Regions from separate parts of the Homo sapiens genome. Here region 2 is linked to region 1. Evidence: promoter capture Hi-C in human tissues and cell types (Jung and others, 2019). All regions are on one chromosome and are shown on one strand. The core of a region is centred on a gene start or on the middle of the fragment in contact, and the rest is flanking DNA. Distances in the headings are between cores, read along the strand shown.

The links. Contacts are between HindIII fragments. The study calls those that stand out against the background at their distance.
Region 2: a contact is called between a fragment that was not itself captured here and the fragment with the promoter of CDC23 in region 1, in 2 of the 25 tissues and cell types used here (dorsolateral prefrontal cortex and mesendoderm cells).

What each region holds. Positions count from the first base shown.
Region 1 is chr5:138,211,106-138,214,902 of GRCh38, forward strand. It overlaps CDC23 (cell division cycle 23), which reads right to left and starts at 2,218. Exons shown (of 16, transcript NM_004661.4): 1 at 2,047-2,218; 2 at 1,886-1,958. The coding sequence starts at 2,207. RefSeq lists an enhancer at 2,235-2,529. The HindIII fragment of the contact is 12,003 bases long and covers 1-3,797 here.
Region 2 is chr5:138,369,507-138,373,303 of GRCh38, forward strand. It overlaps KDM3B (lysine demethylase 3B), which reads left to right. Exons shown (of 24, transcript NM_016604.4): 2 at 3,168-3,335. Among named protein-coding and RNA genes, the nearest start is that of KDM3B, 19 kb to the left of the region's middle. RefSeq lists enhancers at 1,269-1,769, 1,770-2,270. The HindIII fragment of the contact is 5,343 bases long and covers 1-3,797 here.

The sequences.
Region 1 (3,797 bases), core at 968-3,467:
TGGAATCAATCTAGGTGCCCATCAATGGTGCACTAAAGAAAATGTGGTACATATACACCATGGAATACGACACAGCCATAAAAAAGAACAAAATCATGTCCTTTGCAGTAACATGGATGCAGCTAGAGGCCATTATCCAAAGTGAATTAACACAGAAATAGAAACCCAAATACAGCATGTTCTCACTTACAAGTGGAAGCTGATCACTGGGTACACACGGACTTAAAGATGGGAACAACAGACACCAGGGACTCCAAGAGTGGGGAAGGAGGAAAGCAAAGGGTGAAAACTATCTGGCCAGGTCCCAGCACTTTGAGAGGCCAAGGTAGGTGGATCACCTGAAGTCAGGAGTTCCAGACCAGCCTGGTAAACAGGGTGAAACCCTGTCCCTACTAAAAATACAAAAAGTTACCCAGGCGTGGTGACGGGTGCCTGTAATCCGAGCTACTCGGGAGGTTGAGGCAGGAGAATTGCTTGAACCCGGGAGGCAGAGGTTGCAGTGAGCCATCATGCCATTGCACTCCAGCCTGGGCAACAAGAGCAAGACTCCGTCTCAAAAAAAAAAAAAAGTAAAATAAAATAAAACTGTCTATCAGGTATTATGTTCACTATTTGGATGATGGGTTCAACTGAAGCCCAACCTCAGAATCACACAATATATCCATGTAGCAAATCTGCACAAGTAACCCCTGAATCTAAAATTTAAACAACAAAAACAATTATTTATCCTATTCAGGACCAACGATGGGCCTAGGCATTATGAAAGTGGGCACAAGAGTAAAAGCTAATGAGACAAATATAAACTGCATTGACTCAAAAAATTTACCTAAGAGTATACCGTATGCTTTACCCTTATTGCTTTATTTAATCTTCTTGAAAATGCAGCAATTATTAACATTATCTATAGATGAGAAGGCTGTCACTTAGAAATCATTTGCCCACATTGGTGCTGCTAATAAAGAACTTGACCGAAATATAGATGCAAGCACCAGGCACACTTCTAAGCGGTCTATATTATTATCTCATTGACTTCTCTCAATATCCCCATTGAGTAGATACTATTACTATCGTCACTGCACAGATGAGGAAACTGGCTCAGAAGGTTAAGTTGCCAAAGGTCATTTGAACCCAGAGTCGTCTCAATCCAGCACCCAAACTTAACCATTATTTGCTATGCTGATCAGACAACAGTGTAGGTATTGTAAAAACTTTATTTATTTATTATTTATTTTGAGACAGTGTCCCGCTCTGCCCTCGGGCTGGAGTGCAATGGCGCGATCTCAGCTCACTGCAACCTTCGCCTCCCGGGTTTAAGCGATTCTCCTGTCTCAGCCTCCCGAGTAACTGGGATTACAGGCGCGCGCCACCATGTCCGGCTAATTTTGTATTTTTACTAGAGACGGGGTTTCACCGTGTTGGCCAAGCTGGTCTCGAACTCCTAACCTCGTGATCCGCCCACCTCGGCCTCCTAAAGTGTTGGGATTACAGGCGTGAGCCACCGCGCCAGACCAAAACTTTTGATTCTTCTCATCCTTTTGGGTATTTATTATGAGATATCCTTATAATAATTCCTTATAATAATATTTACTATTATGAGGCACTCTTATGTCTAGGTTTGGCTATAAGCCCTAAAAGGCTGAAATCATAAGCAGTAATTGTTTACTAATTCTCCCCAGCTTTAAATAAGAGCACCACCAAGTCTTTCAAAGCTCAAGAAAACTAAATGGATAAAATCATTTAAAACACTCAGCTCTTTGAATGCCTGAATTCCCTCTACAAACATTTCTGCTAAGCAGTTTGCTCTCCTCCAGTGACAGGGCACTCAGTGGCTCTTGAGGCACACCCCTGGGTTGATGGGGAGCGCTCACTGTAAACATGTCCTTACCTCTGTAATAGGCGGAGGCGGTTGCAGCTCGGCCAGAGGCAATGCAGGGAGAGAGAAAGCCAACTCCGCCGACCTGGAACACCCACACAAACTAGATCAGCTCGACAAGCCCCCCAAGGCCAAGGATCCAAGCCCCGTCCCTTCCCACTCCAACATCTCACCATTTGCTACTGTGTAGTAGGCCCCGCTCCCGGGTAAGGCCCGCAATAAGCAGCAGTTGCTTTTTAATTTCCCGCAAATCTGAGAAATCGCTGTTTATGGACAGGACAGGCGCCACTGCCGCCGTCACAGCCACCGGGACCATGGAGGTACTCGCAGCCATTTTCCCGACTCGGGCCACTCCAGCCAATCATCGGCGATAATACTGGCTGCCCATCTGCACCAAAAATATCTGCCTGTCATTGGCCGGCTCTTGCTCCGGAAAAACCAATCATAGGTCTTATTTCTGAAACGTCACGAAGAGGCGGGGGAAAAGAAACAACTACATCCCCAAATGGCCAAGAGCTACTGAGGCGGGAAAATTAGAAAATAGGCGGGGCGAGGGAGAAGCCACGACCTCTGGGCGGGGCGGGGAAGAGGGGAATGAGTGACTGGGAAAAGTAAACTGGGAAGCTAGGGGTGGGAGTAGGGGCAAGAAAGGGTGGAGAAGGGAGAGTGCCTTTCACGGGTGATGTGATTGGATGAAAAATAGAAAGGGTGTAGTTTCAGGGCCGACTCTGTACCAGATAATGACAAAGTGATGTATATGCTAGGAAAGATGCATGGTAGCCTCTGGATTCTTCCTTAAAATAGGAGGATGTATCGCCCCATGTGGAGGATTTTTCCTCTTTGTCTACCCTTTCTTACCCCGGGTAGCCCGGGGAGGTGGGGGTGAGAGCATTGTTCTGTAACATTTATTTAACAATAATTGTTAACATTTCACATTTATTGAGGGTTTATCCTACAACAGGTTCTGCTCTTTTACAACTATAATCTGGTTTAATCCTAAAAACAGCACTATGATATTCGTATCATCCCAATTTTATAGAAAGAAAAACGGAAGCTCGGCCAGGCGCGGTGGCTCAAGCCTGTAATCCAACACTGTGGGAGGCCGAGGCGGGCGGATCACGAGGTCAGGAGATCGAGACCATCCTGGCCAACACGGTGAAACCCCGTCTCTACTAAAAATACATAAAAATTAGCCGGGCGTGGTGGCACGTGTCTGTAGTCCCAGCTACTCGGCAGGCTGAGGCAGGAGAATCGCTTGAACCTGGGAGGCGGAGGTTGCAATGAGCCGAGATCGTGCCATTGCACTCCAGCCTGGGCGACAGAGCGAGACTCCGTCAAAAAAAAAAAAAAAAAAAAACAAAACCAGAAAAGAAAAAAAAGAAAAAACGGAAGCTCAGAGAAGTTCTATCACTCTTCCAAGGAGAGAGTCTAGACTATAAACCAGATTTTACTCCAAAGCCCAATGTTCTTAAACATTACATGAACATTTTCGGCGTTTTTTGGTTTTTATCCTTTCATAGTAGTATACTATCTTACCAACCCCTCGGGAATTTTTTTTGAAACCATTTTGTCATTCACTGGGTGTTATATAGAAGTTATCTATTTTTAAATTGTTATTTTATTATTTTATTTATTTTAAGAAAGGGTCTCGGCCGGGCGCGGTGGCTCACGCCGGTAATCCCAGCACTTTGCGAGGCGAAGGCGGGCGGATCACGAGGTCAGGAGATCAAGACCATCTTGGCTAACACGGTGAAACCCCTGTCTCTACTAAAAATACAAAAAAAAAAAAAATTAGCCGGGCGTGGTGGCAGGCACCTGTAGTCCCAGCTACTCTGGAAGCTGAGACAGAATGGCGTGAACCTGGGAGGCGGAGCTTGCAGTGAGCAGAGATCGCGCCACTGCACTCCAGCCTGGGCGACAGAAC
Region 2 (3,797 bases), core at 911-3,410, 160 kb after region 1:
CACGCACACACCCACACCTCCCATTGACAGCTGGATGAAGCCCCAATCTTTTATCCAAGTGTTCAAGATCTTCCACATCTACTCCTAGCGTTTTTAGCCTCATTGGCTACTGCTTCCTTCCGACAGTGTGTTAAATAGGTCCTGACCATCCCAGAGCTTAACTGGGGCTTTTGTTGTCCTCAGCCTCTATCAGTTCCTCTGCACATCTGAAGTGATCTTATGCCTCTGAATACCCACCATACCTTATTTTACCCTATTTCTGTTTATCCTGTGACATACTATTGCCCAAATAGTGCTTTATAATCAACCAAAGTGCTTAGAATCTGTTCCTTTATTTAATTTTCACAACCAGTCCATGAGGTAAGAAAGATGTGTCATATCACACAAGAGGAAACTAAGATTTGAGGAAGGAAAAGTAAGTTGTCTAAGTTTTGCAAGAGAGTGGAACTGAGACACTAATCCAGGCCTCCTGGAACATGAGCTCCAAGCTTTGTACGTTATGCTGCCTTTCTTGGTGCCGGAGTCTGCACTTAAATGTAAGTTTGAATATATCTCTCTCTTTCCAGTTGCTTGTAAGTTACTTGAAGGCAGGGGCTATGTCTTATTCCCCTACAACATGTATGTATGAATGAGCCTATTTATATATTAAATATAGTACAGTTCAGTGTTCTGTCCTTTTTCTTAGTAAAAATCATGCTTCTCTCTGAGCCTTGCATCTCCATCTTTTTATTAAGTAGAAATGAAGCTTACTTTTCTCATTGCTAATTTCTTTGTTGGAGTATTACAGATAATAGAGCTAGAACTTTATAATGAATTTAACTTCTGGGATAACTTTTTAGCAATGCAGTTCACAAGTATTTGTTGCCTGTGAAGAGATTAAACCGATAGCTAGGCTACTGAGCTATGGTTCCATACTTTCCAAGTATAAATTTCCTGAATTTTCATATCATTATAATTTTTATGTTGGTTACTTGAGAACATGTATACAAACAAAAAAAAAGCCATTGTGAATTCAGTAATATTTTCCTTCATATTTTTTCCACTGTGGTAAAATACACATAAAATTTTATTAAGTTTTTAATGGATTTGAATTTTATTAATTACATCATCTACATGTATTTGAAAAATCATAGCACATACATCTGCAAGACCTGGCATTCACTCTACAGGAAATGCCTGGTGCCCCTAGTACTTACAGATCCTCCTGGTAACTCCACAGTTGCCAGTTGGGAGTCACATGTGTGGGGATTCTAATACTGTCCTGCATTACTTAGTGTTGCCTTAAGAAGTTTCATGTGAGTTTGTTTTTTTTTTTTTCCGAGACAGAGTTTTGCTCTTGTTGCCCAGGCTGGAGTGCAGTGGCACGATCTCAGCTCACTGCAACCTCCGCCTCCTGGGTTCAAGTGATTCATCTGCCTCAGCCTCCTGAGTAGCTGGAATTATAGGTGCCCACCATCATACCCAGCTAATTTTTGTATTTTTAGTAGAGACAGGGTTTCACCATCTTGGCCAAGTTGGTCGTGAACTCCTGACCTTGTGATCCACCCGCCTCGGCCTCCCAAAGTTCTGGGATGGCAGGCATGAGCCCCCGTGCCTGGCCGCATATGTAGCTTTTGATGCTGTGTCCACTCATCTTCAGAAGTCAGAATTTATATAGAAAGTCAAAGCTGGGGCCAGCCAGGGTAGCTCACGCCTGTAATCCCAGCACTTTGTGAGGCTGAGGCAGGAAGATTGCTTGGCTCCAGGAGTTTGAGACCAGCCTGGGCAACATAGTGAGACCCTGTCTCTACAAATAATCAAAAATTACCTGGACATGGTAGTGTGTGCCTGTAGTCTCAGCTACCCAGGAGGCTGAGGGAGAATTGCTTGAGCCTAGGAAGTCGAGGCTGTAGTGAGCCATGATTGTGCCACAACACTCAGTTTGGGCAACAAAGTGAGACCCTGTCTCAAAAAAAAAAAAAAAAAAGTCAAATCTAAGCATAATATTTATTAGAAAAATGTAGCTTCATTTAATGTAATCTGCTTTCAGAGCTGTATAAATACAGTGCCTACTTAAGTATATTTCAAGAAGTGGAGTATCTGTTCAGGGAAGAAGAAAGCATTGTTGTGACTACAGCAAGTGTCTGCTAACAGATGTGAGATTACTGCTGACTGTTGCACTTAAGAATCCACATGCAGCTGGGTGTGGTGGCTCATACCTGTAATCCCAACACTTTGGGAGGTCAGGGTAGGAGGATCACTTGAGCCCAGAAGTTCAAGACTGGCCTGGGTAACACAGCAAGACCCTATCTCTACCGAAATAATTAATTTTAATTTAATTTTAAATTTTAAAAAAGGCTGGGCACGGTGGCTCATGCCTGCAATCCCAGACTTTGTGAGTCTGAGGTGTACAGATCCCTTGTTCAGGAGTTCAAGGCCAGCCTGGGCAACATGGTGAAACTGCGTCTCTACAAAAAATAAGCCGGGCATGGTGGCACATGCTAGTAGTTCCAGCTACTTGGGAGACTGAGGCAGGAGGATCTTTTGAGCCCAGGATGTGGAGGTTGCAGTGAGCTGAGATCACGCCATTTCACTCCAGCTTGGGCGACAGAGTGAGACCCTGTCTCAATCGATCAATCAGTCAATAGAATCCACACGCAGGAATGGGAGGGCAATGTTTTTCAGCATTTTATCTTTTTGAATTTTTGCCATATGCATACATCACCTATTCAAAAAATAATTAAAAGTTCACAGTCATTTCAATAGAAGTATTAAAAATGTCTTCCTATTGGATTATGAGCTTTTTGAGACCAAGAAGTATGCCAGATTCCTTTCTGTATTCCTGAACCTAGTATAGTACCTTATATATGGTAAGCCCTCAGCTAGTATGTGTAGATACGAATTAGAAACTAAGAGTTGCAAATTTCAGTAGGGACATGACTAAAAATTACTGAATGACTGTGAATAGTTCATGCCTCCTTAACTCTGTTCCTCCTCTTCAGAATGTGGCTGAGACCAGCTTCCTGGCTCTGAAGATCAGCTATTATTGACACCCATTAAAATAACTTAAACACAAGTTAGAATTATTCCTAGTCAGTTGTTCAAAACAGTGGGGTTTATGTTCATTTATAAGTATAGTGTGAGATTTTTCCAAGTGTGACTTCCAAACTGCTTTTTATCTCTTGCAGATCTTTGTAGAATTTGATGGCTGTAACTGGAAGCAACACTCCTGGGTAAAAGTTCATGCTGAGGAAGTTATCGTGCTTCTGCTGGAAGGGTCTCTTGTATGGGCGCCCCGTGAGGACCCAGTCCTTCTCCAGGGCATTCGAGTCTCCATTGCACAATGGCCAGCCCTGGTGAGTGGCTTTTACTGGGTGGGAACATGTCTGAGCTTTACTCCTATAATATAACTATGACATGTTAGGGACAGAGTATGTGTAAGAACTACATACTTTGTCCTTAACGTACATTTATTCTGAAGTTACTAATGCAAAAATTAGGAGCAGTCTTTTCTCCTTTGTCCTCCAAAATGTTTTATATTAGGTGATATTTGATATGAAAGAATTTTTTTGGCCAGACGCGGTGGCTCACGCCTTGTAATCCCAGCACTTTGGGAGGCTGAAGCAGGAAGATCCCTTAAGCTCAGGAGTTTGAGATCACCCTGGGTAACATGCCAAAACCCCATCTCTACAAAAAATACAAAAATTAGCTAGGTCTGGTGGCACATGTCTGTGGTCCCACCTACTTGTGGGGCTGAGGTGGGAGGATGGCTTGAGCCCAGGAGGTTGAGGCTACAGTGAGCCGTGATTGTGCCACTG